Regions from separate parts of the Homo sapiens genome. Here all the other regions are linked to region 2. The links are contacts of gene promoters, found by promoter capture Hi-C in blood cells and fetal thymus (Javierre and others, 2016). All regions are on one chromosome and are shown on one strand. Each heading gives the region's core, a stretch centred on a gene start or on the middle of the fragment in contact. The rest is flanking DNA. Distances are from core to core; before and after follow the strand shown. Region 1 overlaps ZNRF2 (zinc and ring finger 2). Region 2 holds the start of GGCT (gamma-glutamylcyclotransferase). Region 3 overlaps ZNRF2 (zinc and ring finger 2). Region 4 overlaps LOC124901607 (a long non-coding RNA gene). Region 5 overlaps LOC124901607 (a long non-coding RNA gene). Region 6 overlaps ZNRF2 (zinc and ring finger 2).

Region 1 (4,589 bases), core at 1,099-3,598, 180 kb after region 2:
AATGTACTATTATGTACACATAATAAAATTTTTTAAAAAAACTAAGAATTTGCTAATAATATTTAATTTGTTGGCTTGTCTGAAATATCCTAGAAGGAGCAAGGAAATGAAGAGAGCCTCTATACTCATAAAATTTGTATTAGATTCATAGACTATACAAGGAATTATTAGGTCCATAAACTCAACAATGAAGCACATGAAAGAGGGAAAAGTATATGAAACAGGCAGTCCTTCACATGAAGGTAATCTATGTTGTTGAATACTCACTGTGGCATTCTTAATTTTTTCAAGCTGCCAAAATACCATCTGCAATAGATAATACCACCCACATCATTCAAAATCCTTCCCTGCCCTGACAGCCTTGGGCGTCCCATTGGGATCTCTGCCGAGCCAGCTGCCCAATCCCTGAGAGTTTCTACCTAGTCAGCCAATTTCTTCTTCAGGTACCAGGATGTGGGTGTTCAGATATATTGTGCATTTAAAAAAATAAGAAGGTTTTGGTGAGCTAGTCTGAAAAACCAATATTTCAAATATCATCTCTGTGACAAAGAGTCTGAAACTCTAAATCATCAACTTATATTTGAATTTCTGGAACTCATCCAATTCAGGAGCTTATCTATATAAATATATCCAGTCTGAAGAAAACAAGCCCCACTATTCTTGTGTTATAACTATGAATGTTTATAGACAGTTAACATTCACTTAACAAATAAATTTCAAAATTTCAGATCTAGCTACTTTGGAAAAGGCTGCAAAAGTGTAAGTTAAATGAACAGTATGCTGAAAAAAATGTTCTTGTTTGAGCACTAACACAATTCAGAGGCCCAATGTATCTGATGTATCTCTCTATGGAATCAACATGTAGGAATTCAAATATAAAATTGTGAGGAATCCAGTTGACTAAAAAGATTCAGTTTTAGAGATTCTCTGGCTTTACCTTGTTCTACTTTATAATAATCCTAGATGGTTTGCTTATGAGGTATTAAAGGAGCCAATTTCCATTTGGACTCATCACCTGTGACAGACATTTTGGGGGGGGTCTGACTTTAAAACCAGGTGGCATTAGAATTCCCCTTGCCTATGATAGGAAAGTACATTATTAACCTGCCACCTCTCTGTAACCCTCCAAATCAGTCCAGGCAAAGCTCCTTTCTCCTTCACTTACTCATAACTGGCCACTGTCCAAGAGCTAGTTTTAAAACCTCAAAAACTATACACGGTTTTTATTAAGAAGCTGTATTTGCTTCTTGCTGTGAATGTTTATACAATTAATACATACTTTGAATTTTTTATCTCTACAAAATAAAAAATAAAAGCCAGGCATGGTGGCATGCACCTGTAGTCCTAGCTACTTAGGAGGCTGAGGTAGGAGGATCACTTGTGCCCAGGAGTTTGAGGCTGTCGTGTGCCATGACTGTGCCTATAGATAGCCACTGAGCTCCAGCCCGGGCAACACAGCAAGATCCTGACTCTAAAAACAAAAATATATATATTTTTATTTTTTAAAGCTTTCAGTCAGCAACTTTAAGAATGCCTACAAGTTTATTTACTTATTGCATGAAATTTATTAATTTCTAGATTGAAATACTGTTAAATATTTAAAATTCGAAATATTTGGTTGTTATAGTATCCCCAAGCAGAAGGTTATATATTAGTTCTTAAGACACCAAACAAGTGATCTAGCAGAACAGTTTAATGACTTAGGCATAGTTAAATCAGGAAATTAAGAACTGTCAAATATCCAAACCTGACCAAAAACAAGCAATGGGGAAAGGATTCCCTATTCAATAAATGGTGCTGGGATAACTAGCTAGCCATATGCAGAAGATTGAAACTGGACCCCTACCCCACGCCAACCTCCTTAAACCACATACAAAAATTAAGTCCAGATGAATTAAAGACTTAAATGTAAAATCCAAAACTATAAAAACCCTGGAAGACAACTTATGCAATACCATTATAGACATAAGAACAGGCAAAGATTTCATGACAAAGGCACCAAAAGCAATTGCAACAAAACCAAAAATTGACAAATGGGATCTAATTAAACTAAAGAGCTTCTGCACAGCAAAGGAAACTATCAACAAAGTGAACAGACAACCTACAGAATGGGAGAAAATTTTTGCAAACGAAGCATCTGACAAAGGTTTAATATCCAGCATATATAAGGAACTTAAACAAATTTACAAGAAAAAAGCAAACAACCCCATGAAAAAATGTGCAAAGGAGATGAACACTTTTCAAAAGAAGACATAAATGTGGCCAAGAATCATATGAAAAAAAGCTCAACATCACTGATCATTAGAGAAATGCAAATCAAAACCACAAGGAGATACCATTTCAAGCGTCAGAATGCGTATTATTAAAAAGTCAAAAAAAAATACATGTTGGAGAGGCTGCAGAGAAAAAGGAACACTTAACACACTGTTGGTGGGAGTGTAAATTAGTTCAACCATTGTGGAAGACAGTATGGCAATTCCTCAAAGACCTAAAAACAGAAATACCATTTGACCCATCAATCCCACTACTGGGTATACACCTAAAGGAATATAAATCCTTGTGTTATAAGACACATGCATGCATATGTTCACTGCAGCACTGTTCACAAGAGCAAAGACATGGAATCAACCTAAATGCCCATCAAATGATAGACTGGATAAAGAAAATGTGGGTCCATATATACCGTGTGAATACTACACAGCCATAAAAAAGAAGATCATGTCCTCTGTGGAAACATGGATGGAGCTGGAGGCCATTATCCTCAGCAAACTCACACAGGAACAGAAAAGCAAATTCCGCACGTTCTCACTTGTAAGTGGGAGCTAAATGATGAGAGCACATGGACACAAAGAGGGGAACAATACACATTGGAGCCTACCAGAGGGTGGAGAGTAGGAGGAAGGAGAGGATCAGAAAAAATAACTAATGAGTACTAGGCTTAATACCTGAGTAACAAAATATCTGTAGAACAAACCCCCATGACACAAGTTTACCTATATAACAAACCTGCACATGTACCCCTCAACTTAAAAGTTAAAAAAATTGTTAAATATCACAATACACAAGAAGACTGTATTCTAGATATATTACACAAAAAGTAAACATACAGAATACTAAGACTGTGTGTAAATATATTATTATATGGTCAAATATATTTGTGATTTTCAAATTGAAAGCCAGAAGCTTTAAGATTTATGGATATTTAAAGGCACTCATATTAAACATAAACAATTATAGAATATAAGATAGTGGAGCAGGTATGAAAAACAAACCCATATACTTTTAGTCACAAATTTTGAATGAGAACACTTTCTATTTCTTAAATAACTAAACTTGAAGTAGATAATGCAAAGTAGCCAATTCAATTTCATAATGCAAAAAGGTTAGGATATAATCAACAAATACATTTATTATGCCAAGTAACTGCTTAAAACCACTTTCACATTTCATCAGCAAATGAATGGCAAAAAGTGCTCTATTGTCAACCCTGTAATAGGGTGGCTGAAGCACCACCATACTAGAAAAAGTGAAGGAAAGGGAAGAATTGAGAGACTGATTCTTAGATCAACTTGCAAAACACTACCAAAAGTAATATGCTCATTTCAATGTTAAATTCTACCCCTCCCAACATTTTTGTTACCTGAGGAGAAAGCTCAGATAAGTGCTGCTATATCTACTAAGTTTTTCATAGAACCTTTTTATTTAACCAATAATTCTTAGCTCAAAGAAATCAGTGACTATTACTATTAGTAGGCTGTAAGCTCCATTTCTGTTCATTCACTGCTATATCTCTAATTCCTAACACAGTACCTCGCACATAATTGATGCTCAAAATATATGTTGAATTTAGCCAATCTTTCAATTGGCTATAGTGTTTACTGGTACCCTTTCTACACATTTTATTTCAGGCCAAAATTTATATTTAAAAAAAATGAAATTTCTCTTAAGCTTTTGAAGTCTGTTTCTTTATAAAATTTTGAAAACAACTTTCATTTTTCCTTCATTTTATTCTATTCATTGGTTAGGACAGAACTACTTGATTTTTCCCCCCCAAGTCTATTCCAAAGTATGCCAAGGCTACATTTAAAATCTTTCCTAGGTTTTGGAATATCTAGAGATTTTGGTCAGGAAAGAATGGTACAGTCTAAAACACCAGACCTAAAAAAATACCAGTTCGCTCCAGAGCTCACAGACTAAATTTGTATATGGGAGGAAAGACAGAGACACATATGCACTGCATAGGTAGAGTTTTGGGTTTCTCTTAATGACTTTTTTCTCCCATTAGGCATCTATTTACTATTGAATAAACTTTTATTCTCCCTACTCCTCATATATGTTCCCTTCATTTACTCTATACTCTTAAACAAAAAGAAAAAAGTTGCAATTTCAACCATGCTTACTTACTTTTGAAAATGGCCATTATGAACATTACATTTTACTTAGGCTTAACCCAAAAGATTTTATTTCAATGCAGCAGTTCTCAAACTGTGGTCCAAAGAATCTTGTACAGTAGGAGAAGTGGAAGAGCCTTTGAAATCCTTTTAGATTAACAAAGTAAAAACTATTTTCATGGTAACACTAAGTATCTG
Region 2 (4,434 bases), core at 806-3,305:
TTCCTGAAGTCAGCAAGACCACAAACCCACCAGAAGGAATGAACAACTCCAGATGCACCGCCTTTAAGAGCCGTAACACTCACCGCGAGGGTCTGCAGCTTCACTCCTGAAGTCAGTGAGACCACAAACCCACCAGAAGGAAGAAACTCCAGACACATCTGAACATCTGAAGGAACGAACTCCGGACACACCATCATTAAGAACTGTAACACTCACCGCGAGGGTCAGCGGCTTCATTCTTTAAGTCAGTGAAACCAAGAACCCACAATTCCGGACACACCAGCACTTTGGGAGGCCGAGGCGGGCAGATCACGAGGTCAGGAGATCAAGACCATCCTGGCCAACATGGTGAAACCCCGTCTCTACTAAAAATACAAAAAATTAGCCAGGCATGGTGGCGGGTGCCTGTAGTCCCAGCTACTCAGGAAGCTGAGGCAGGAGAATGGTGTGAACCCGGGAGGCGGAGCTTGCAGTGAGCCGACATCACACCACTGCACTTCAGCCTGGGCGACGGAGTGAGACTCTGTCTCAAAAAAATAAAAATAAAATAAATAAATTGTAACCAGCAGTAATCCTCAGGGAGTAATTTGGCATCAAGTGAATATCCTGTTCCCTATCACCTTTTCACCAAATGATATCACTGATGATCCTGGCATGAATCAATTATAAAATTCCATTATTCATTTAGGATGACTTAGTTGGCATACTTTTGTAAAGAGAACTGTTTCCTCATCAACTGATGCTCGTCATCAGCTGTATTTCAGTTACCCCGAAATACAGCTGCTACTAGAAAGGCGGAATACCTGTTTGTTTTCTTAAATTATCACTTTGCAGAGTAAAGTTGGTGTAATAGTCACCACCAATAGTGTGGCAAATGAAGTTATAGTTTTTTTTTTAATTTGGATTACTCTTTGGGGGGAATGGCTTTTTTATGTTTAAAGTTTCCAATCATTTTTCAGTTTGCAGTCATTGTTATTTTTGATTCTCAAATTGTTCTAATTTTGGCCAGTGGGCAACTTCAGGCTGGTTCCCATGTCCTTTTAGAAGGACCTCGTTCGTCTTGAGAGGCGTCCTGAGCTTCTGACACAAGATGTTCCAAGTTGTCCTCATTCACTCCTAGCTCCTGACCTGGCATCAGTCATTTCTCGAAGGATCACTTGGTACCTTTTAGTGGGGGGTGGTATTTAGAGATTAATAGCTGGGTGTCAAGGATAGACAATGTTCCTATGCCCTTATGTTCATTCAAAAGTTAACAATATAGGTTTTAAAAAATACACCCAGGATGTGTGTGTGTGTGGGAGGGGGTAACCAAAACACAATATAGGGGTTTCTACTGTGACCCTAACTTATATTATGATCCCGATTTTTAAAAAGAGGAAACGGAGACCAGAGGTGCCCAAAGTTACTTGGCTAGTAAATGGCAGCGTCGGGATTTAAGCCCAGGCATGTAACTTCCATGTAACAGGGAAGGGAGTCCCAAGCATTCAGAGGGGCCGCTCCAGCAGGCGACGGGTCCGTGGAAAGGGGTCAGATTGATGACCAGTGCTGGGGGTGCCGGAACCAGCAGAAAGGGTGAACGGACCCGTCCTGCCCGACTCCTCTAGGCCAGGAAGGCAGGACCCGGCGAGCTGCCGGATGAGGGAGCCGTTGATGGAGTCGCCTGGGCCGCTGTTTCGCCTCAGATCTGACCAGAACTTCCTAAGGCACAGAAAGTACCAAAGAACCACACACAAGCACCCCAGAGCGAAGAAACCAGTCACGCGCCACGACCTTCAGCCAGTGTCCATGGGACCCGACCCGCCTGTGAGGAGTGCCTGTCCACCCCTCAATCAGAGGAAGCCTTGAGCAAGGAGGGGCGGGACATCAGTAGGTCGTGTCCAATGAGGAGCCAGCGCCGGATTGCTTCAGGACAGACTATTTCTGAGTCTCGGCGGAAGGCGGAGGGAAGGCCGTGGGGATGGCCAATCAAAGGGGGCGACTCAGGTCGGTGGGGACCGGCAGCCAATCAGGAGAGCGCTCGCTCCTGACTCGACCGGCCCACGCTTCCCGCCAGTCCCCTAACCCTGAGGCTGCCGCGCGGCGGTCACTGCGCCGGGGTAGTGGGCCCCAGTGTTGCGCTCTCTGGCCGTTCCTTACACTCTGCTTCAGGCTCCAGTGCAGGGGCGTAGTGGGATATGGCCAACTCGGGCTGCAAGGACGTCACGGGTCCAGATGAGGAGAGTTTTCTGTACTTTGCCTACGGCAGCAACCTGCTGACAGAGAGGATCCACCTCCGAAACCCCTCGGCGGCGTTCTTCTGTGTGGCCCGCCTGCAGGTGAGTGCCCCCTCCCGCGCTACCCACGCCGGGGCCGGGATGCCCAGAAGGCGCTTCCTCGGGGGCACACGTGGCCGATCGGGCCAGGAATGCAGTTCTTCTTGATGAGGGTACTAGGACGCGGCTTCCGCCTCCTGGGCGGGTCCACCTCCTCCGCTGCGCCCACTGCCCGGCCCTGCCCGGGCCACGGTGCCCTCTCGGGCTGCCTGGAGCTTTCCCCCTCCTGGCCTTTGCACCGGCTGCTCGGTCTGCACCGATTTGGCCTCTCGTCCACTAACTTAACAGATTGCATACAGTTGGTACTTCTGGAGAGTCTTCTCTGACCCGTGTCTGGGAATTGGTTGCCTTCTGTTCTGTACATAACCTTTGTTACAGCACTTCTCACCTGGCATTGTGAAAATCCGTTTACCTGCCTTTCGCTCCTCATCTAAGAGGTCCTGAAAGCTGGGACCATGTCTTATTTGTAATAATGCTGTGTTCAGTTAGGTCAAGGGGCTGCATGAACTATAACCAGTGTTGGTAAATCATTGCTCTTCAGCCCAGTCCATTCATTCATTTAGTACATATTCTTCCGGCACTTAACACTAAGGGTATAAACATGATTGAGTAAAGTGGCTGTTTCGAGGAACTCTCAGTCTGTAGGACAGAGGTGCAATAGATTATGTTCAAAACCTTTTTGACAGCGTCGAATGAGACAAACATGATCTCTGCTAACATCGTGAGTTCTTAGTTGCAAGCAACAGAAACTGGCTGATTTAAGCAAAAAAAAAAAAAAAAAAAAAAAAAAGAATGTGTTGAAAGGCTATTGGAGAGCTCACAGAATGACCAGGAAGGCAGGAGTACAAAGCTGACAAAACGGACAAGCATAAAGGGAGGCACAGCAACTGTAATACAGTGGGCATCACACAACAGAACCAGCCCACGGAGCCTCTTCCACGCCACTGCTGAACTTGGTAAACGTGGATGCTGTATTGTCCACCACCCCCTGCCCTGGACACTGCCTGCCTCTGTACATCCCTGCAGTTCCTGAAACCCAAATGTGTCAGCCTCTCTGGAGTCCCTGCTGTCTTGGGCACTAGCTTCTAATTGAAAGCCCCAGAATGTCCCGATTGGCTAAGTTTTGGCCACGTACCCATGCCGTGATTTTAAGCAAAACTGAGAGAACCAGCTTCTGGCCTTTGAAGCCTCAAAAATGGGAGTCAGGCTCTGATACTCCCTATTCCCAAACTCGTAAGGTAGGGAATTTCCCAACTGTAGGAAGGGAGTCCAAATGCTTACAGTCAGGGCAAGGGGAAGAGATATTAAACAAGGGATTATTCAGTTACAGGTATATGGTCCATCTTAAAAAGGAGGCATGCAAAGTGCAATGGGGCGTATGACCAGGGTACCTGACCTAACCAGGATGCTCAGGAAAGCCCTGCCTGAAAATGTGACTTTTAAGTTGAGACCTGAATGATTGTAGAGGTGGGGAGCACACAAAACAGGGAACAGCATCTTCTGCAAAGGACCTGAAGAAAGAGGAAGCTGGATCTTTCAGTCAGTGTGGCTGGAGTTTAGTAAGGGGAATGTGGCATGAAGACTGGAGATATGTGGAAGGGCCACATCTTCCAGGACCACAGAAGCCAAATAAGACACACTGCAGAACTAAAGCACATGAAAGATAGATTTCTATCTCCAAAAGCCCATTCTGGTCACATGGAAAATAGATTTGAAGGAGGGAAGAGTGAATGTGGAGAGTTCAAGAAGTTTTTGCAGCAATTTATGCCAAAGATAATGAATGGCATCTTGAACTAGGGTGGTGGCAGGGCAGGGTGGATGGATTTGAGAACTAATTTGGAGATAACATTGTTAAAGCATAGTGATTGAGTGTGAAGAGAATACCAAAGATGACTCAGGTTTTTGGCACCAGGTAGATGCAGGTGATGTTTGCAGAGAAAAGAGGAAAATCCGGCTTGGGAGGAGAAAATTTTAAGTTCAGTTTGAACATTTTGAATTTGAAATGCTTGCTAAACAGTCAAGTGAACAGAATAATATTAGCAAACATTTATTAAGTACTTACTGTGTGCTAGGCCCTGTTCTAAGCACTTCTGAAGCTCAGAAGAGAGATCTGGTCTGGGTT
Region 3 (4,462 bases), core at 1,278-3,777, 200 kb after region 2:
ATAACATTTTAAAATATATTACATGCTACATATCTATACTTTCCTGATCAGCAAAATTTAGCATTTAACTGAATCACAACAATGCAAAACAAAAATTACCGGGTACCTTTCTGTACTGCTTAATAACAGGTTAGTTTCCTGTACTTTCCTTCTTATCCAACAATTACCAAACATAGTACACACATTCAAAAAATACTCACTGCTTAATTCACTATAAACACTGACTTCCAATGCTCTTAATTCTATTGGAAGTTTAGACGGACATGTGCTGATTCAGGATAGTGAACTCTGCACAATACCACAGCAAAAGGTTGACAGATGTGAAAGTTTGTATGTCTGGGTTTTCAAAGAGTTGCTTCTAAGAGTAAAGAGTCAGGGTGTCTTTTAGCTGTCTACTCCAGTCTTTAACTAGGACATCATCATTATACATGCTGAGTTTTATCAGAGAAGTGATAAATTTCTGAGCACTCTAAACACATTCTTATCCTAAATAATGGTTAAATAATCCCTTTAAGAAATCTAAATTTGACTCTGATTGTTGAAACAGAAAATATTCAGTATAACTATTTGACTAAATACATTAGAAGAGTTCAGAGAATGTTCAAAGTCCCACTCATGATATCCAAATAAAAGCTTATATACTCTGCTTTGCCATTATTTTAGAATTTTTACATGTTTTAATACGAAGCCTATTCTAACTTTTTAAAGTAAAAAGGCCCTCAGTAATAAAGACAATGTCATCATGTAAAGAAAATGGTACATATTCTATATATGAATTTATTTATACAGGAGTGAAGACATCATATTTAGGACCTGTCTTTAAAATAATTCAGAGAAAAGAGATAAATGAAGCCAATACTGCAAAATATAATGAACACTGAATGTGGATGCTGAAGATATGAAGTTTTTAGTTCATTGTACTGTTTGCCTCTACTTCTATGATTTCTAATAATATTTTTAGAAAGTCTGTAGTAAATCTAAGTCAATTTTTTCAGTAAATCTGAAAAGCCAAAATTCAATTCTAATTAAAAGTAACTCAGAAAATACTCAAATTCTAATTTAAAAAAATAAAATATTGACAATACTAATTGTTACAGAGGATGTAAAGAAATACAAACTCTCAAACAACAGTGTAACTAAAAAGCAACATAACCACAGTGGAAAACACTATTAAGCTGAAGGTATACATAACCTATGACTCAGCAATTCCACTTCTAGGTATATATCCCAGAGCAGTGGTTCTCAAATTTTAATGTCCTTAAGAGTCATTCATGTGGAGAGCTTGTTTCGGTTTCCTAGACCCCATCCCCAGAGATTCTGATTGAGGGTGGAGCCCACAGATTTGCATTTCTCCCAAGCTCACACAGATGACACCACCAATGGTGCTCGTTCAAGGACCATATTTTAAGTAATACTGTCCTAAAGAAATCTGTGCACATATGCACCAGAATACATATTAACAAAAAATTCACAGTAGCAATGTTCATAATGGCAAAATGGAAACAAACACCCAACAATGGAATGGTTGAAAAAATTCTGGTGTATTTACAGAATGAAAAATGATAAACTTTAAACTACAGAATGATGAACTACACACAGTATAAATGAATCTTACAAACATAAAAGCAGCAAGACCCAAAAAAGAGTATGATTCCATTTATATCAAGCTGGCAAAATTAAACATATTCTTTACAAATGTATATATAAATTATAAAACAAAGAATGGCAAAGAAATGATTACAAATGTACGGATTATGATTATTCTAAGAGGAAAAAAGGGCTTCATTATCAGGAAAACAAAGGGGAGGATTTCTGGAGTGTTGGCACTGTTCTACTGCACATGGATGACAGGTGCATTGGTATTCATTTTCTAACTCTACTCTTCCATTTTCTGCATTTTTCTTATTTATATTTCACACACAAAAATTTTAAAGACATTTTCTTTGATGGTAAAATTTTATGAAAGTGGCTTTCCAAAGTCTACTATAAGTTTTAACACACTAAATCTGGCCTCATTCTTTTAATCAGTTAAATTATATTTCACAATCTAAGTTTAAGAGTGAAACATTATGCTCGGTGGTAAATAAAAATTTCATTAAATCAAAATACAAAGTCTTGAGGCAACAGGTTAACGGTTATTGCTATGAAAAATCCTAATATATTTATACCTTTAAAAAACACTTGAAAGGCTCAAATATCTTGAAATGTGAAACAAGAAATAACAACACAGAATTTGATAGCAAATTTAGCAGAATTAAGGGTCAATAAAAACAGTATCATTCAATGGACTTGGACTCAGTCTATAATTCTTCCCAAAGATACTAGTTATTATGCTTTTAATGTACACAGAACAAACATCTTACAGAGATCTACCTGGCAAAATTTGGGAGGATTCCAAATGCCATATAGAAAATAAAAGTAGTACAGATGTGAGAAAGACTTTTCTCCTTCCCACTCCAATACCCCTCCACCCCCAGCCAAAAAAAAAAAAAAAAAAAAAAAACAAAAAAAAACAGCAGAAAGAAGACAAAAAAGAGAATGCAAGCTCCAAGAAAAACATCACTATGAAACACACAAACAATGGATGCCATTTGACACAGCATGCAAGGACAGGAGAACCTCAGAACTAAAGTTTTATCAGTCTACACACAAACAAGGCAACAATGAAAACCTGGGAAACCACAGAGACCGTCTGAAGTCTACAAAGTTTTCACCAAGATAGGTGAGGGTAAAAAAATCCTCACTAGGTCAAAAACTTTGTAAATCTTATTTAAATACTTACCATTAAACTACTGGTTCCAGAAGGGATAGAGGTAGCAGAGTAGAAAAAAGAGGGAAAACCCAATCAATACTAAGGATAAAAAGTGTCAACATAATATTAAATCTATGCACCCAGAATAAAATAGCAAATAAATACAAAATAATGAGAGATTAGGCAGCCAACTTTCTAGTAGTATTGAGAGGTGGGTGATCAATGCTCCCTTCTGCCTCGTATTCCTGTTTTACTTATTATTTGGACACTGAGCTACTTAACAGCTATTTCAAAAAGTGGACTTGGGAAGGCAAAGAAAGTCTGTAATTTTAAGTACGGTCGACAGGCAAGTCAATGTGCAACTTAAACTACTAAAGGAACCAAGAATCCCTTTATTACCTAAATTCTATTTCACAGCAATTGGATTATCCAGTGTTTTAGGAAAATTATCTATGTTTATCCATAATGTATGTACACAACTAAAGCAGTGGTTTAGTATTTCAGTGACTGGAATAGGTGGTTTTATCATTTGCTGGTATGGTTGATACCTAACCATTATCCTAAACAAATGAACAGTGACGCTGCTTATTGTAGCTTGCTCATTTGCCATAAAAGATGGAATTTTATTCTTCCTGACTTTGTTTCAACAGCTTTTATTATTTTAAGTATTTTATGTAATGCTTTACTTACTTCTAGCTTTCATACCCACCATTTAAGGCAACTTGCAGATAGGAGAATTTATTATTTTGATAATAAGCCATAAAAGACTGAATTTTATTCTTCCTGACTTTGTTTCAATAGCTTTCATTATTTTAAGTATTTTATGTAATGCTTTACTTACTACTAGCTTTATACCCGCCATTTAAGGCAACTTGCAGATAGGAGAATTTATTATTTTGATAGTAAGAGTGTTAGCTCACATTTGCAGAGCACTTTAAGCCAAACACTTTGCTAAATGCTACATTATCTCATCTAATCTTTAAAACCACTATATGAAGTAGCTACTATTATTATTATTACTTTAATATTGAGGAAAGAGCGGCTTAGAGAGTTTAGATGACTGGGCCAAAGCCCCAAAGGCCCAGCTACAGATCCAAAAATCAAAACCACTACACTATACAAACAGTAATAAATAAGATACCCAGAATAATGTTTTCAATGTTTCAATCTTAATTTCATTGCCATAAGTGCTAGAAACATGTATGACAGATGAATGTAATAAGAATCACAAGTCTTATGAAAAATTTCCCAATTCACTGATTTACTAAAGTACCAGAGGATAAACTAAACAAACAAGTAGGAAATATGACACTTTAATCTTACAAGAAATCAAATGTTAGCCCTAACTAAAAATACTAGAGAAACAATATTTATTGCTGGTAACTGGTCAACCTCATCTACAACACTGCTATAAGAATTAAATCATACACACAAAAACATGTCCACATTAAAAACTGAAAAAGTGTACTCCTTGCTAAAATGAGTTCAAGAAATGAAACTAATGGCTTACAAGAAAGATAAATTCTGGGTGGTTATTTGTTATAAAGGTTTTTTAAGTATACTTTTTAAATGACAATGTTTTAAAAAACAAGGAGAACAAACTTACAAAAATACTATCTACATGAAAATAAAAGCTAAATAAAATAAGCCATATCTCCCTTGAAGCTTAAGATATCTTTTAAAACATGAGTAAAACTAGTATAGTTACCT
Region 4 (4,529 bases), core at 970-3,469, 240 kb after region 2:
AGTGCTGGGATTACAGTCATGAGCTACCATGCCCAACCAGCATCAGATTCTTTAAAGCTCCGCAAGGGGAGTCCAATATGCAGATGAGATTGAAAGTGACTGATGTAGACCAGGTCCTGGGGATCTTGTGAAAATGCAGATACTGCCTCCCTAGACCTGGAGTAGGGGCACAAGATTCTTTCTAATGTGCTTCCAGGTGATGTTGATGCTGATGGTCTGCTGACCACATCTTGAGAAAGGAGGGAAGAGCCATCTGATGGATTCTCTGGCTACATAAAAAGAGCTGAGATAGCAAAGTCAGACAGACCTGGAGGAGAGCAAGGGTAGTGACCAGGCATATGATTACTGGAGTAAATTGCCTGGCACCCTTTCTTCCTAGTGATGTGACCTTGGGCTAGTTATTTAAAGTTGCCTTCATCTGATGATGGAGATATAACATAATATAATACATAGGGTGGGTGTGAGAACTGAGCAGAACACCACGGACACCGTGGTACGCATGTGTGAGTTATTAGCATTATTATTACGTATCCCAATTCCACCACTTACTAGCTTTGTGCTGTTGGTAAGTGTATTAGTCCATTCTCACACTGCTGTAAAGAACTACCTGAGACTGAGTAATTTATAAAAAGGACGGTTAATTGACTCACAGCTCTGCAAGCTATACAGGAGGCATGTCTGGGAAGGCCTCAGGAAACCTACAATCATGGCAGAAGGCGAAGTGGAAGCCAGCAAGTCTTATGTGGTAGGAGCAGGAGGAAGAGAGAGCAAAGGGGGAAGTGCTACGCACTTTCAAACAACCAGATCTTGTGAGAACTCACTCGCTATTGTGAGAAAAGCAAGGAGGAAATCCACCCCCATGATCCAATCACCTCTCACCAGGTCTCTCCCCCAACATTGGGGATCACAATTCAACATGAGATTTGGGTGGGAACACAGAGCCAAACTATATCAGCAAGTTGCTTAACCTCTCTGAGCTCCAGTTTCCTGCACTGTAAAATGGGGAATCATAATATCCATCAATCTCCTTATAAGATTGGAAAGATAAAGAAACTATATGTAAAATTCTTAGCACAATGTTCGATCCATGTGCATGCTCAATAAGTGGTTATTCCTCAAATTAGTTTCATTTGTATTGGGATAAATCATTGTTCCCTCCCATAGGTACATTTTCTATTTAACCAGTTGCCAGTTCTCAGAATCTTCTCCTGCCCCCCACACCACACAGGCTGCAGATTGTAGGGATAGATGACAGAGGATGGGAGGCTCATCTCACTCTCTATTTCAATACGTTCTACTTCAACAGCAGGGCTTGTTTTTATTACCTTATTGAGTTCACATGGGTAGCTTTTGGCAGCAGCAATTATTCTCCTTATTACTCTACAGATGAAGAAATAGATTTGGCTCTGATATGTTGGATTTTCTCAAGCAAGTCCCATATCGAAAATAAAAGCGTTTAATTCTAATCAGAGACAGCCGGGAAAAAAAGAAAAAAAAAAAAAACCTCCTGGCTTCCTGCCTCTTGAAAGCCTCTCCTTCAAAATGTTTTGAGGACCTGCAATGTGCCAGGTATTGTACCAGATTCAAAGTAGAATACGTGACAGAGAGTTGAACAAATCACTACAGGATCACTGGGGAGCAGGGGATGGAGAGGAGGCTCTTGACAGATGGGAATGGGGCAGACAGGATATGCTGTTTCACATAAGAGGTGCTACCTTGGCTGGGCAGTGAAGGTTAAGGAGGATTTGAGAAGTGGCAAATGGGGGAAAGGTGTTCAGGAAGAGAGAACAGCACGAACAATGACAGTGAGCTGGGAAACAGGCTGGCGTGTTTGGGGAATGGCAATTAAACAGGATGGAAGAAGATGGCACTAGAAAGTTAGCTTGGGGACAGATTGTATGCCAGGTGAAAGAGTTTGGATTTTAACCTGTCACTCTGTGATAGGCTGATCACATAATTCATCATCCAAATGCGCCACTTTTGAGAGTTAATGGGCATGCTACCCAGATAGAATAACCAAACACTCAGCAGAAAACAGCACTGTTCCAGGCCAACAGAGGCATACAGTCACCTAGCTTTGGGAAACCTCTAAGGACTAACACTCATCAAATTTGTTTATTGTAGAGGGAATTCTGGCAGCAATGTGGATTGGAAAAAAGAGGAAGTTCCTGCCGTCAAGGAGACAGCTAGGAAGGCAGTGGGAATGAAGAGGAGAGAGATAGACGATTGGTTTTGTAAGAAATAAGACAGACTGAACTTGGAGACAGACAGAGAGAGAGAATAGCTAATGATGACTCTGCACTTCCAGCCTGGGTGCCATGGGGCTGGGAAGACAAGAAGAGAAACAGGTTTTAGGGAAACAGTTTGTATAATTTGAGGCATGTTGAGCTGGAGATATTTGCTAAATATGTATGTCAGCATCCAGTAGGCAATTAGAACAGGAGGCGTAGAGCTCACAGGTGTGGATTGAACATGTAGATTAGGTCGTTAGGATACTAGGTGGAAGTTGCTCCAAATACTGAAGGAGAGATGGTAAAGAGGGAGACAATATGAAACCTAGGATGGACTTAGAGGAAATGGCAAGGAGCTGGTGGAGGAAGAGGAGCCAGGGAAGGAAGAGGTGGAGTCAGAGTTGTAGGAGGAAAAATAGAGGAGAGGTATCCCAGAGGGTGAAAGAAGGGGAAAGTTTTTGGGATGAAGGTCATTCATTCAACGATGTCAAAAGTAGCAAACAGGTAGGGAATGGTGAAGATTGGCATCATTCTTGAGCACAGCATCCATCAGTGTTGATCTTTTTTGAGTGGTGGAGATGGAAGACAGGCCACTGCATGTTGCAGACTGCATGGGAATGAGTACTAGATAGCAATTACAGGCCACTCTTTCCAGAGGTTAATAGTGACAGGCAGGAGAGGGAGTTATAGCAACTTGATGGGGAGGCAAGGTTTCCCTGCTTGATTTTCCTCATGCTGTTTACTGCTACGTCTTGTGTGAACACGTGGTTGGAAAATTAGAGAAAAGGCAGCTGAATCCACCGCGGGTCCCCTGGGTTCTGCTTTCATAGTCTTGAGAGCTGAACTTGAAGTGCTTTTCACAGTCATGAGAGTTGAATCCAAGTGATGATGGCTTTAAGAAATTACACTGAGAGTGAGTTTTCCAGCCCCAAATCTTGATGTCTTGGTTTGTATTCAGACATAACTTGGCGACGGCCCAGTTAGGACATTTCAGTGTATAGAGCTTTTTACACATTGCTGTTGTAGGCTGCTATAGCTTAGAATTTGATGATCACAGCTATTATACATTGTGAAAAGATTGATTAAAAGAATTTTACATAATGAATACTCATGATTCTGTGTGTAAGACCAAAGATGACTAAATCAGTACCCTCAGAGCCTGCAGAAAATATGGCTTTCCAAAAATAAAGGCAGTGTGTGGCTCTCCGGGATTCTCTAGTCCTTCACTAACCTTGGCCTAAAGATATGCAGGTCACCAATCTGATCCTCATGGTGGGTCATCTCCAGCAACAGGGACTTGTGGTCCCTAACGTGATGTAAACTCAGAGATAAAACAGGTAATATAAACTCAGAGAAAGGAGACTCCCTTAAAGAATGAAGAGAGGCTGGGTGTGGTGGCTCACACCTGTAACCCCAGCATTTTGGAAGGCCGAGATGGGAGGATCACTTAAGCCCAGGAGTTTGGGACCAGTCTGGCAATGTAGTGAGACCCTGTCTCTACAAAATGTAAAAAAAAAAAAAAAAAAAAAATTAGTCAGGCATGGTGGTACACACCTGTAATCCTAGCTACTCAGGAGGCTGAGGTGGGAGGATCACTTGAACTGTGGAGATCAAGGCTGCAGTGAGCCGAGATCATGCCACTGCACTCCAGCTTGGGCAACAGAATGAGACCCTGTCTCAAAAGAAAAAAAAAGATGAACAAGAATGAAGACAGAGGGTGAACGACAAGAAGATGCATCTATCGAGGGCTGCAGTTCTTACCTTCACCTCCTGATGCATGGAGAGATAAGTAAAAATAGTTTGTTGGCACTAAAGTTTTTCTACTGGTAGGCCATATTCATTTAATTGACAACAATCCTCCCTATTGGTAGACCACATTAGTTAATTTGACAACAATTCTCCCTTCTTGGTATAAGATATCTATTTACATATCATAATTCTCTTTTAAAATGTACTGGTCCTCTTCAGTCTTCAGAATATCTCTGCCACTGTTTTCCATACTGGCTATGCATGTGACAACATTCATTTCCCAGCACTGACACTGCCATCATCCATCAATCTCAGGTCACTCCTGCAGTCAGGGAGGACTTAGACACCTGGTTCAGTCTCCTTCTCCCCTCAAATAGTATCCTGGTCCTGGAGGATTTCAGCCTCCATGTGGACACCCTCCCATCAGTCTGGCCTGAACATCCATTGCCTGCCCCCTCCCGCAGCAGTGACCTTCGCTTGCACTCCATTCCAGGTGTCCATTCCCCTGGCCTTACCCTGGGCCCTGTCATCACTTGAAACGACTCCACC
Region 5 (4,711 bases), core at 1,309-3,808, 250 kb after region 2:
ATTTTCTGCTGCTAGTGTCTGTCCTTCAGGAGTCAGGTGAGCACTGCAGGTAGAGATAAGAGACAAGTTTCACCTGCTCAAAAATGTCTCTTTCCCCCATCGACATGTGCCAGGGCCTGCAATTCCTACCATCTGTCTCATCTTTGGGTTAAGACAGTGCTTTCATTCATTTGTTCATCCATGTATTTAACCAACGGTTATTAACCTGAGCCCCTGCTGTGTACCAGGCAGGTACCAGGTGTACGGTGGCACAGTGCCTTCATGAAATCTGTCATCTACTGAGGGAGATGTTTGTACTTTCTGCTAAGATCTATGACGGAAAAGAGAATAGCAGAGGGCTCAGTTGGGGAAAGAGACTTGGAAGCTGTTGCTGAAGGGCGGAAAGGAGTTAACAGAGTGCTGAGTGGAGGAGAAGATTTCTGGGCAGTGGCAGCAGCATTGGCTAGAGGCCAAGGCTGAGGGCAGTGAAGAGCCTGGTGAATTCCAGGAACTGCCCTTGAGGCTGAAACAAAGAATGTGAGAAGGTTAGTTGTTGTAGGAAATAAATTGGAGACTTTACCAGGGTTGGTATCTGCAGAAAGTAAATTTTTACCATAAGAATGTTGCCTTGAGTATGATATATGCAGCCACTGGCTAACTTGGCAGGAATGATTGCCTCAAGTTGGCTGGTCTCAGTAGGCAAGTGACAAAGGGTAGATCTGAGGTGGGCAGAAGGAGAAGGGAGGGAACACTGGGAAGGAGCTCCACCCCACCCAGAGGGCCTAGGTCTGGGGTGAAGACTGGTGCAGCAAGGAGTGGGAAGCCTGTTGGGGTGTGAGCCCCACACTGACATGGCTGAGTCACTTCCTAGACGGGGACTTACTGAGGCTGTCTAAGCAACCACACACTCCATGGGGCCTGGTTCTGAAATGGAAGTATAGCCGTGGCGTCTTGAAGCTGACCAGGGAGGTAGTCTAGTCCAAGTTGCTCATTTTACAGGTTATGACTCTATGACCTAATTCAAGTGAAGTGAAAGCCACAGCTGGTTGTGTTGAGCTTTGAAGACTGTTCCCTGACTCTCATGCACCATGCCATCTCATCATTGATCGTGAGCATCTCCATGTAGTTGGAATTAGCTCTCAGGGGCAACTGGGTCATATATGGAGATAGTAGATGCCCAAGAAACACTTGTCAAAATAATATATTTCTCCATATCAGTTTCCTTTAGTTTCTTTTAAAGTGTATACAGATTGAAGACTGAACCAGACCACTATAGTCCCACACTCATACAAACTTGTGATTCATCAACATTCTTCCCAGAAATTGCCATTTTACCAGTGTAAAAACAATATTTTAGATGGAGAATATTTAAGAACATGAAGTACACAAAATGCATCATTCTACCCATCAAAGAAATTGACTAGGATCTGAAACAGGTTTCTAAAACATTAATAAACTATAGGCATTGAGATCTACAGTATGTTCGTTTAAGGGGTGGGAGAAAAATTGGAGCTAGGTGAAGGGGCAAATAATGAATTATTTCACTTCTAGGAGAGATTATATTGAAGAAAAACCTAAAATCAGTATTTTTAACATCATAACAACACAGATAATAGATAACAAGTGGATGATAGGAATTAGTAAAATTCTGGCTCTGAACATGTCCTTTTAGAAGTATAAAGAACACCAGAATGTATTAACATACAGTGTGTGCGTGCGTGTGTGCGTGTGTGTGTGTCTGCATGCGCTCCTGACACATGAGAACAGTGCTGTTTCCATGGCAACGGGGGAAAGTGTGTCTTGCTATGAAGCAATCTTCCTGGATTCAGACACATTTATAAAGATCATGCGCTGGAAGCTGTGAGGGATATATTTGATTCTACTATTCTTTAAATGAGTTAGGCTGTTGTTCCTGCCTCCCCCAGCCATTCTCCTATGCTGGACCTCCAAACTGAGCTTCGAGTACATTCTTTCAATTGTTTCCCCCCATCCAGCCTAGTGACAACCTCCATCACTGTACCATCTACTGTATCCCTTGGGGTTTCTCAAACCTGGCAGTAGGCTATGACAAAGATCCCCCATTGTCATTGCTCCTGAAGCACTGACTCTGTGTGTGTGTGTGTGTGTGTGTGTGTGTGTGTGTATGTGTGTGTGTGTTTTGTAGTAGTTCTTTCTTTCTTCCAAATGTACCTCTAGGAGATAAGTCCTATTCTTATCTCCAGTTTACAGACAGGGGAACTGAAGCTTAGAGAGGCCAGGTAACATCTCCATGGTCACACAACTAGTAAGTGGTAGAAGGGAAATCTGGACCAAGTGGCCTGATTTAGGGCCTATGCTCTTCACTCAGCAGGAGGAGGAGGAGGAGGAGAGGAAGGAAGCAATAGCATAGAGTTTTAAAATGTGAGAAATTTGACTTTATATCCAAGGCTTTTATAGTAGTGGTCCTTGGTCTGTAATGTCTGGCTTCCTTTTGAGACAGCTAAAAAATAAGAGTTTTCATTTTCAGCCCTCTATTTTTATTCTTGGACTTGAGGTTCACAAACCTTTCCCTTTCTTCTGATCCCATTTTTGAGTGTAGACAAAGTTCAGTATAATAGTAAATGTTCCTTTGCCTTAAGTGAGCAAGTTGATTTCTGAGGCTCTGCCCAGACAGCAGTGATTGTGCCTGGGCTTTCTCTCAAAGACATGTAATGTGATTTCTAGCAGTGGCTTCTGATTGAACTTTTATTATTTTTAATAATTCTCACAAATAATTATAATGTGGTATACTTATTTCATTCTCTTGCCTATTAGTGGCTAGAACTTCCAGAAATAGTGATCCTGATTAATAAGAATGCCTCAACTATTAGGCAAAAACCACAATTACTTTTGTACCAACCTAATATTTAATCGTATTTTGAAGAGGCTAAGCTTAGGCCTTTATCCACAGTAGTTTCCTCATAGGAAACTTTCATCATATACTTTCTTAATCAGGAATCTGATAATGGCTGCACAATTAGCCACCAGGCAAGCAGGAAGGTACAGACCTTCTAAGTGATCTCCTAATACTCAGAACTTAATCCAATGCCAGAGTCCACTTTTAAAAGTCAGCTCCATTGAGGAGAATGCTCCCTTAATATAAAACCATCAATCCTGTAGCTGTTTAGAAAGCCAGATCTTCATTCAGCTGTGAACATTAATGATGGTGTGCACCTCAATAAAGAACACTGTCAGGCTGAATTAAAAGACTATAAACTGGGTGTACAAAGGAGAATGAGACAGTAGCAGAGTGCTGGCACATAGGAGTCAAGCAGTAAATATTGTTGATGCTCATCTTCTGCCCACACCCACCCATGATAAAAGAACAAATGATGATCCACCGAGTCTTAGCAGCAAAACACTTCCTGTGCTATATAGAGAAGGTAAAAAACACCAAGCCCACGACAACTGCCTAGGTACAACTCATCTTCCTTTAGAGTGATGCTAATCAAGTTCATCTGGCCACTTTGTTCTCCACATTAGCATCTAATAGATGAAGCCTAGAAGAAAAAAGCCATTTTTCTTAGGATTCTTATAATCACAAAGTGTCTGTAGTCATAGGGATCAGGAATGGTTAATTAATACTTGCATTATCTTGCTTCCTTTTCTCCCATTATTTATATTTCCCAATGGAGTAAAACAGGGTTCAGCTTGGAAAACAAAGAAGCAATGGTTCTTAAAATACTGTTAACTCTGTCTGTGGAATGTACTCACAGCACAATCACAAGGGCAAAGTTATAAATGATGTGGCTTTGTTAGTGAGGCTTGCTTTATTTTTGTGAATGCATTGAATTTAATGAAACAAGGAACAACAACAGGAATGTATTATGTTTTCTAGTTTTCTTATTGACATGCTTTCTGTTGGGTCTAAGTATAGTTCTTTCCTAACTAGCACTAATTTTCAGTATTCTAAGTCACCATGCATGAAATCCTATGTTCTGTTCCTCTGTTATGAAAATGGTTTTCTTAAGTCTAGGTTTTTTGAAACTCCAGGTTTCAGTTGATTTAATGACTTGGTAGTCTTGCAATGTGGCTCTACATTCAAAACACCCACAGAATCTGACCACTTCTTACTACCTTCAACACTGCCCAGCCCGAGCCAGCATTATCTCTTCCCTAGATCACTGCATTGGCTCTGACCTGCCTCCACCCTTGCCACATTAGAGTTCATCTCAAAATAGCATTCAGAGTGGTTCTTTAAACACAAAAACAAGAAAAGGCCATTCCTCTGCTCAGAGCCCTGCCAGGGCGCTCCATTTCACTCAGAGTCTTCACAGTGACATGGGGGCCTGCCATGACTGGGTCCTCACCATGCTGTGATCACATCTCTATTGCTGTCTCTTCCTCATTCACAGTTCTGGCCATGTTACCCTCTTGCCGTTCTTTCAACATGCTGGGCACTGCCTCTTCCCTCTGTCTGTAATGCTCTTCCCTATATGTGGACACAGTTACTTCCCTCATTTCCTTCCATTTTTGTGTTTGAATGCCACCTTCTTAATGAGACCTCTCTTGGCCACTTTATTTAAAAGTGTACCCTGTCTACCCCAACTCCAGCATTCCTGGTACCCTTTACTATGCTGTAAGTTTTCTTTCTTCCATAGAGTGTATCACTTGCTAACATACCATATGATTTTCTTAAATGTGTCCTGTTTCTTGTCTGCCTGCTCCAGTAGAACGTAAACTCCAGGAAGGCAGAGAGCTTTGTTCACTGATG
Region 6 (4,082 bases), core at 397-2,896, 140 kb after region 2:
GTTTTTCAAGCATCTTGTCAAGACAAGAAAACCTGTGTAAAAATAGATTTCCCCATGAACATTGCTTTAGTTACTGTAAGTCTTCATACCCTTACTTACTATTCTGAAAACTCATAAAATCAGTGATCTGGAGAAGAACAGATTAAGAAACAGAAGGATCAATTAAAGTTTAGTCACAAAAAATACATAACAAAGTCATCCCCCTTTCACAATAAGGACTACACGCAAGTAAAGAATGCACACACACGGAGATTTAAAATATTTCTCCCAAATAACTAAAAACCCCAAAATAAGTACAGCAATTTTCTAACTAATCAAGACCACAAATATTCATGTCTCTCTATTTTGGGTTGATTATTAAATTCTTATGCTGAAGGATATCAGAAACGTTGAGCTTTATGGCTACACAGTGCCTTACAAAATGTTTTAACAACACTGAATCCTCCTCAAACCCATATACCTTTAATCTAGGACTATTAAAAGGTATACAAGAATTTATCACTTGATAAATAAGAACAGTCAGGACAGAAGCAAAAATGTACAAGTCAAGATATTCCATGTCTATAAACTCTTAAAAATGACTCTTCAAGACCCACAGAAGCAGACTCCATTGGTTCAGATTTCTGTAGACACCTGATTAACAGAGTTCACCCTGCCCATGTAGTAGGCTAGTTTCAAATTCAGGTTCTATATTCGAAAACAAACAAATAAGCAAATATAACACTCATATGTAACATAAGAAAATGGAAATGTTGTTGAAGACCAACAGACATATGCATTTCAGCTATGAGATGAGATGTATGCTCCACATATCCCATAAGCTCACTGTGACACTAAAGGAAAAATTTAGCTGATGAAAGAAAAAAAATTTATACAATATAATTCCACCTCACCAAAAAAAAAAAAAAAAAAAAAAAAAGCTTATCAGCTCTATGGTCTAAATGTTTGTGTACTCCCAAAATTGCTATGTTAAAACCTAATCTGCAGTGCTATAGTATTAAGAGGTGGGGCCTTTGGGACATGATTAGGTGATGAGGGCTCTGACCACATGAATGCAGTTAGTATCCTTATAGAAGCTTGAGGGAGTCTGTTATCCCACCACGTGAGGACACACAGAAGGTGCCATAAATGAGCAATGAGCCCTCATCAGACACCAGATCTACTGGCTGGAACCTTGATCTTAGACTTCCCAGCTTCCAGAACTGTGAGCACTAAATTTCTGTCATGTATAAATTACTCATCTAAGGTATTTTGTTATAGCAGCCCAAAATGCACTAAGAAAGACTAAAAAGACAAATTTTATCTATAGATGAAGGATTTAGATGTATTACTTTGGCATGTAAAATACTAAGACAAAAATTTCATTTTGTTAGCATCAGTTTCAGTACTTCCCTTAAAATGCTTCTATAATTTTAGCCACAGTTTCGTTTTGTCTCAAACATAAGGTGACAATGAAGGCATTCCAAACCTTTTCTATGGTGAAATAAAAACATATGTGCACATATATTCAAAATACCACTCCACCACTATACTTCTCTTACCTAGCATTCTTACTTCCATTCACATTTTATTTATTTATTTATTTAGACAGGGACTTGCTAAGTCACCCAGGCAGGAGTGCACTGGTGTGTTCATAGCTCACTGCAGCCTCAAACTCCTTATCTCAAGCAATTAGTGTTCAGCCTCAATTCATATTTTAAATGTGTCAAGGCATGATCTAAGTAAGTTCACAGGAAAGGTTAAAATTGGCAGTCTTTTAGTACTCTGCAGTCTACCAAGGCTTCCACATTTCACATGCACATGCGTAGTCTTATGACACTCAACTGCAGTTCTCATTTCAGGTGCTATTGCTGCTATTATCTCAAATCTTCTCTGTCAATATTCTAATCTGCTACTCTTAAATCATCTTCCACCAATACAGCAACAGAATTCCTTGAGGGTGTTTATTACCTCAACACTTTTATTCTCAAATTTAAGAGAAGTTATTGAAATAAAAGGAAATGGTACCACACAGGACTAGACCTCTGGACGTCATCTGGTCTAGTTCCTTGCCATCAGTCTCAGCCTCCTAGAAAAGCCGGCTGTTACTGTCTTGAGTCCCTGAACAAAGAGACTCTCACTCCTGAAACAATTCTAGGATTAGCTAAAATGCTCTGCCTTGATATAACAATCCAATGCTTTATATCATCTCTCCAAGTCTTTTCATAAAAGCTTTTCATATATTTGAAGATAGCAATTAAGTTAACCTTTATTTTTTCAAAGCTAAATGATGTCAATTTAATGCACTTGTGAAATGTGAAAAAAAAAAGCCCTATGAAAATACCCAATTGAGGTCAGCATTCAATTCACTAAACATTTTCAGATAATGCAGAACCATGAAAAACTTAAATCAGTAGAACAAAACTAGTTTTTTTTTCAGTCGTAAAATGCAACTTTATTTTTTGCCTACTATATAGACAGGCACTGTATTACATGCTAAAGATATAAAAGTGAATGATTAAATTGAATGAATAAATTTATGATGCGACTGTTTGAAGAAAATGTTCCTACCTAAAAAGAGCAAAATTGCTAAGAACAGTCTTTGGAACCAGAATACCTGGGTTCAAATTTCATCCCCACCAACAAACTAGTTATCTGAACTTGAAAAGTCAAGTTTCTTAACCTCTCTATACTTAATTTCTTCATCTGCGTAATAGGAACAGTAATGGTACTGAGCTCAAAACGGTTATTGTAACAATTAGACAAGTTACTAATAGATGTAAAATGCTTACAACAACACCTGGCACATGATAATACTAAATGATTAGAATTATTATTTTTTGGTTTGGTTGTTTTTGAGACAGTCTTGCTCTGTCACCCAGGCTGGAGTGCAGTGGCATGATCTCGGCTCACTGCAACCTCCACTTCCTGGGTTCAAGTGATTCTCTTTTGTTTTTTGTTTTTTTTGAGAAGGAGACTCGCTCTGTCGCCCAGGCTAGAGTGCAGTGGCACGATCTCAGCTCACCGCCAACTCCACCTCCTGGGTTCACACCATTCTCCTGCCTCAGCCTCCCAAGCAGCTGGGACTACAGGCACCCGCCACCAGGCCTGGCTAATTTTTTTTTGTATTTTCAGTAGAGACGGGGTTTCACCGTGTTAGCCAGGGATGGTCTCAATCTCCTGACCTCGTGACCCGCCCGCCTCGGCTTCCCAAAGTGCTGGGATTACAGGTGTGAGCCACCATGCCCAGCCTCAAGTGATTCTTGTACCTCAGCCTCCCGAGTAGCTCGGATTACAGGTGTGCACCACCAAGCCTGGCTAATTTTTGTATTTTTAGTAGAGACAGAGTTTCACCATGTTGGCCAGGCTGGTCTTGAACTTTTGGCCTCAAGTGATCCACCTGCCTGAGGCCTCCCAAAGTGCTGGGATTACAGGCGCGAGCCAGCATACCCAGCCAACAATTAGAATTATACAATATTTTTAATGTAAGTTTTCTATGCAGTAGCCTAAGTGTCTGAAACATACACATACACACTCATGCACCTCAATGAGTAAATGAATAAATAAAAATTATAGTTTAGAATGTATAATTTGGGCTAACGCTTTAAAAAGTAATTACAAAAAAAATTACCTATAAAACAGGAAGCTGACGCTTAATCTGAAGGGTGCTCAGGGCAAGATCTATTTACTTCAAACCATTCATCTATGCAGCTAGAAAGGAACAAAACCAGAAAAATTGAGATACTTATACTAATTATTTATATAATGAGAGCCACAGTAAAAATACTTGACTTTAATATATTTTTTACAGAAAAAAATGAGCATTTTAAATTATATTTGGCATACATAAGCAACAGATAAGAATGTTTATTATATTTTGATTCTAAGCGATTAAGAAAAAAACCTTTGCAAAATTATGCTATAAAGTACTTTAAAGTTCAAACAGAACTACTTCCAAAAGATAATCTGAACTACCACTTTACCAATATTCAAAACTGAATAACAAATTTGCATAATTTTTCTTTTCAAAACAGTTATTCATTTATGCACATTATCAACCTGTTCATGTCACCTATAAATGTATTAAAAAACGGCTTTTAAAT

Evidence for each region. The method cuts DNA at HindIII sites, captures the fragments that hold promoters and counts their contacts. A CHiCAGO score of 5 or more calls a contact.
Region 1: a contact is called between a fragment that was not itself captured here and the fragment with the promoter of GGCT in region 2, in 1 of 17 cell types (naive CD4 T cells). The highest score is 5.8, in naive CD4 T cells.
Region 3: a fragment that was not itself captured here is called in contact with the fragment with the promoter of GGCT in region 2 in 1 of 17 cell types (total B cells); the score reaches 6.0 in total B cells.
Region 4: a fragment that was not itself captured here is called in contact with the fragment with the promoter of GGCT in region 2 in 7 of 17 cell types (total CD4 T cells, neutrophils, non-activated CD4 T cells and 4 more); the score reaches 8.8 in total CD4 T cells.
Region 5: a fragment that was not itself captured here is called in contact with the fragment with the promoter of GGCT in region 2 in 4 of 17 cell types (naive CD4 T cells, non-activated CD4 T cells, activated CD4 T cells and 1 more); the score reaches 6.7 in naive CD4 T cells.
Region 6: a contact is called between a fragment that was not itself captured here and the fragment with the promoter of GGCT in region 2, in 1 of 17 cell types (activated CD4 T cells). The highest score is 5.1, in activated CD4 T cells.

The regions. Positions count from the first base shown.
Region 1 is chr7:30,324,592-30,329,180 of GRCh38, reverse strand. The region is part of intron 2 of ZNRF2 (zinc and ring finger 2); the gene reads right to left. Among named protein-coding and RNA genes, the nearest start is that of MIR550B1, 37 kb to the right of the region's middle. The HindIII fragment of the contact is 1,675 bases long and covers 1,511-3,185 here.
Region 2 is chr7:30,502,450-30,506,883 of GRCh38, reverse strand. It overlaps GGCT (gamma-glutamylcyclotransferase), which reads left to right and starts at 2,055. Exons shown (of 4, transcript NM_024051.4): 1 at 2,055-2,315. The coding sequence starts at 2,175. RefSeq lists enhancers at 1,580-1,669, 1,089-1,967, 2,110-2,319, 1,968-2,847 and a silencer at 2,470-2,649. The HindIII fragment of the contact is 6,754 bases long and covers 1-4,434 here.
Region 3 is chr7:30,305,368-30,309,829 of GRCh38, reverse strand. All of the region lies in intron 1 of ZNRF2 (zinc and ring finger 2), which reads right to left. Among named protein-coding and RNA genes, the nearest start is that of MIR550B1, 18 kb to the right of the region's middle. The HindIII fragment of the contact is 3,784 bases long and covers 636-4,419 here.
Region 4 is chr7:30,267,365-30,271,893 of GRCh38, reverse strand. The region is part of intron 2 of LOC124901607 (a long non-coding RNA gene); the gene reads right to left. All of the region lies in intron 1 of LOC105375218 (a long non-coding RNA gene), which reads left to right. Among named protein-coding and RNA genes, the nearest start is that of ZNRF2, 15 kb to the left of the region's middle. The HindIII fragment of the contact is 5,121 bases long and covers 1-4,529 here.
Region 5 is chr7:30,249,188-30,253,898 of GRCh38, reverse strand. The region is part of intron 2 of LOC124901607 (a long non-coding RNA gene); the gene reads right to left. The region is part of intron 3 of LOC105375218 (a long non-coding RNA gene); the gene reads left to right. Among named protein-coding and RNA genes, the nearest start is that of ZNRF2, 33 kb to the left of the region's middle. The HindIII fragment of the contact is 666 bases long and covers 2,226-2,891 here.
Region 6 is chr7:30,361,985-30,366,066 of GRCh38, reverse strand. It overlaps ZNRF2 (zinc and ring finger 2), which reads right to left. Exons shown (of 5, transcript NM_147128.4): 4 at 3,611-3,690; 5 at 1-32. The coding sequence ends at 3,633. Among named protein-coding and RNA genes, the nearest start is that of LINC01176, 27 kb to the left of the region's middle. The HindIII fragment of the contact is 1,135 bases long and covers 1,079-2,213 here.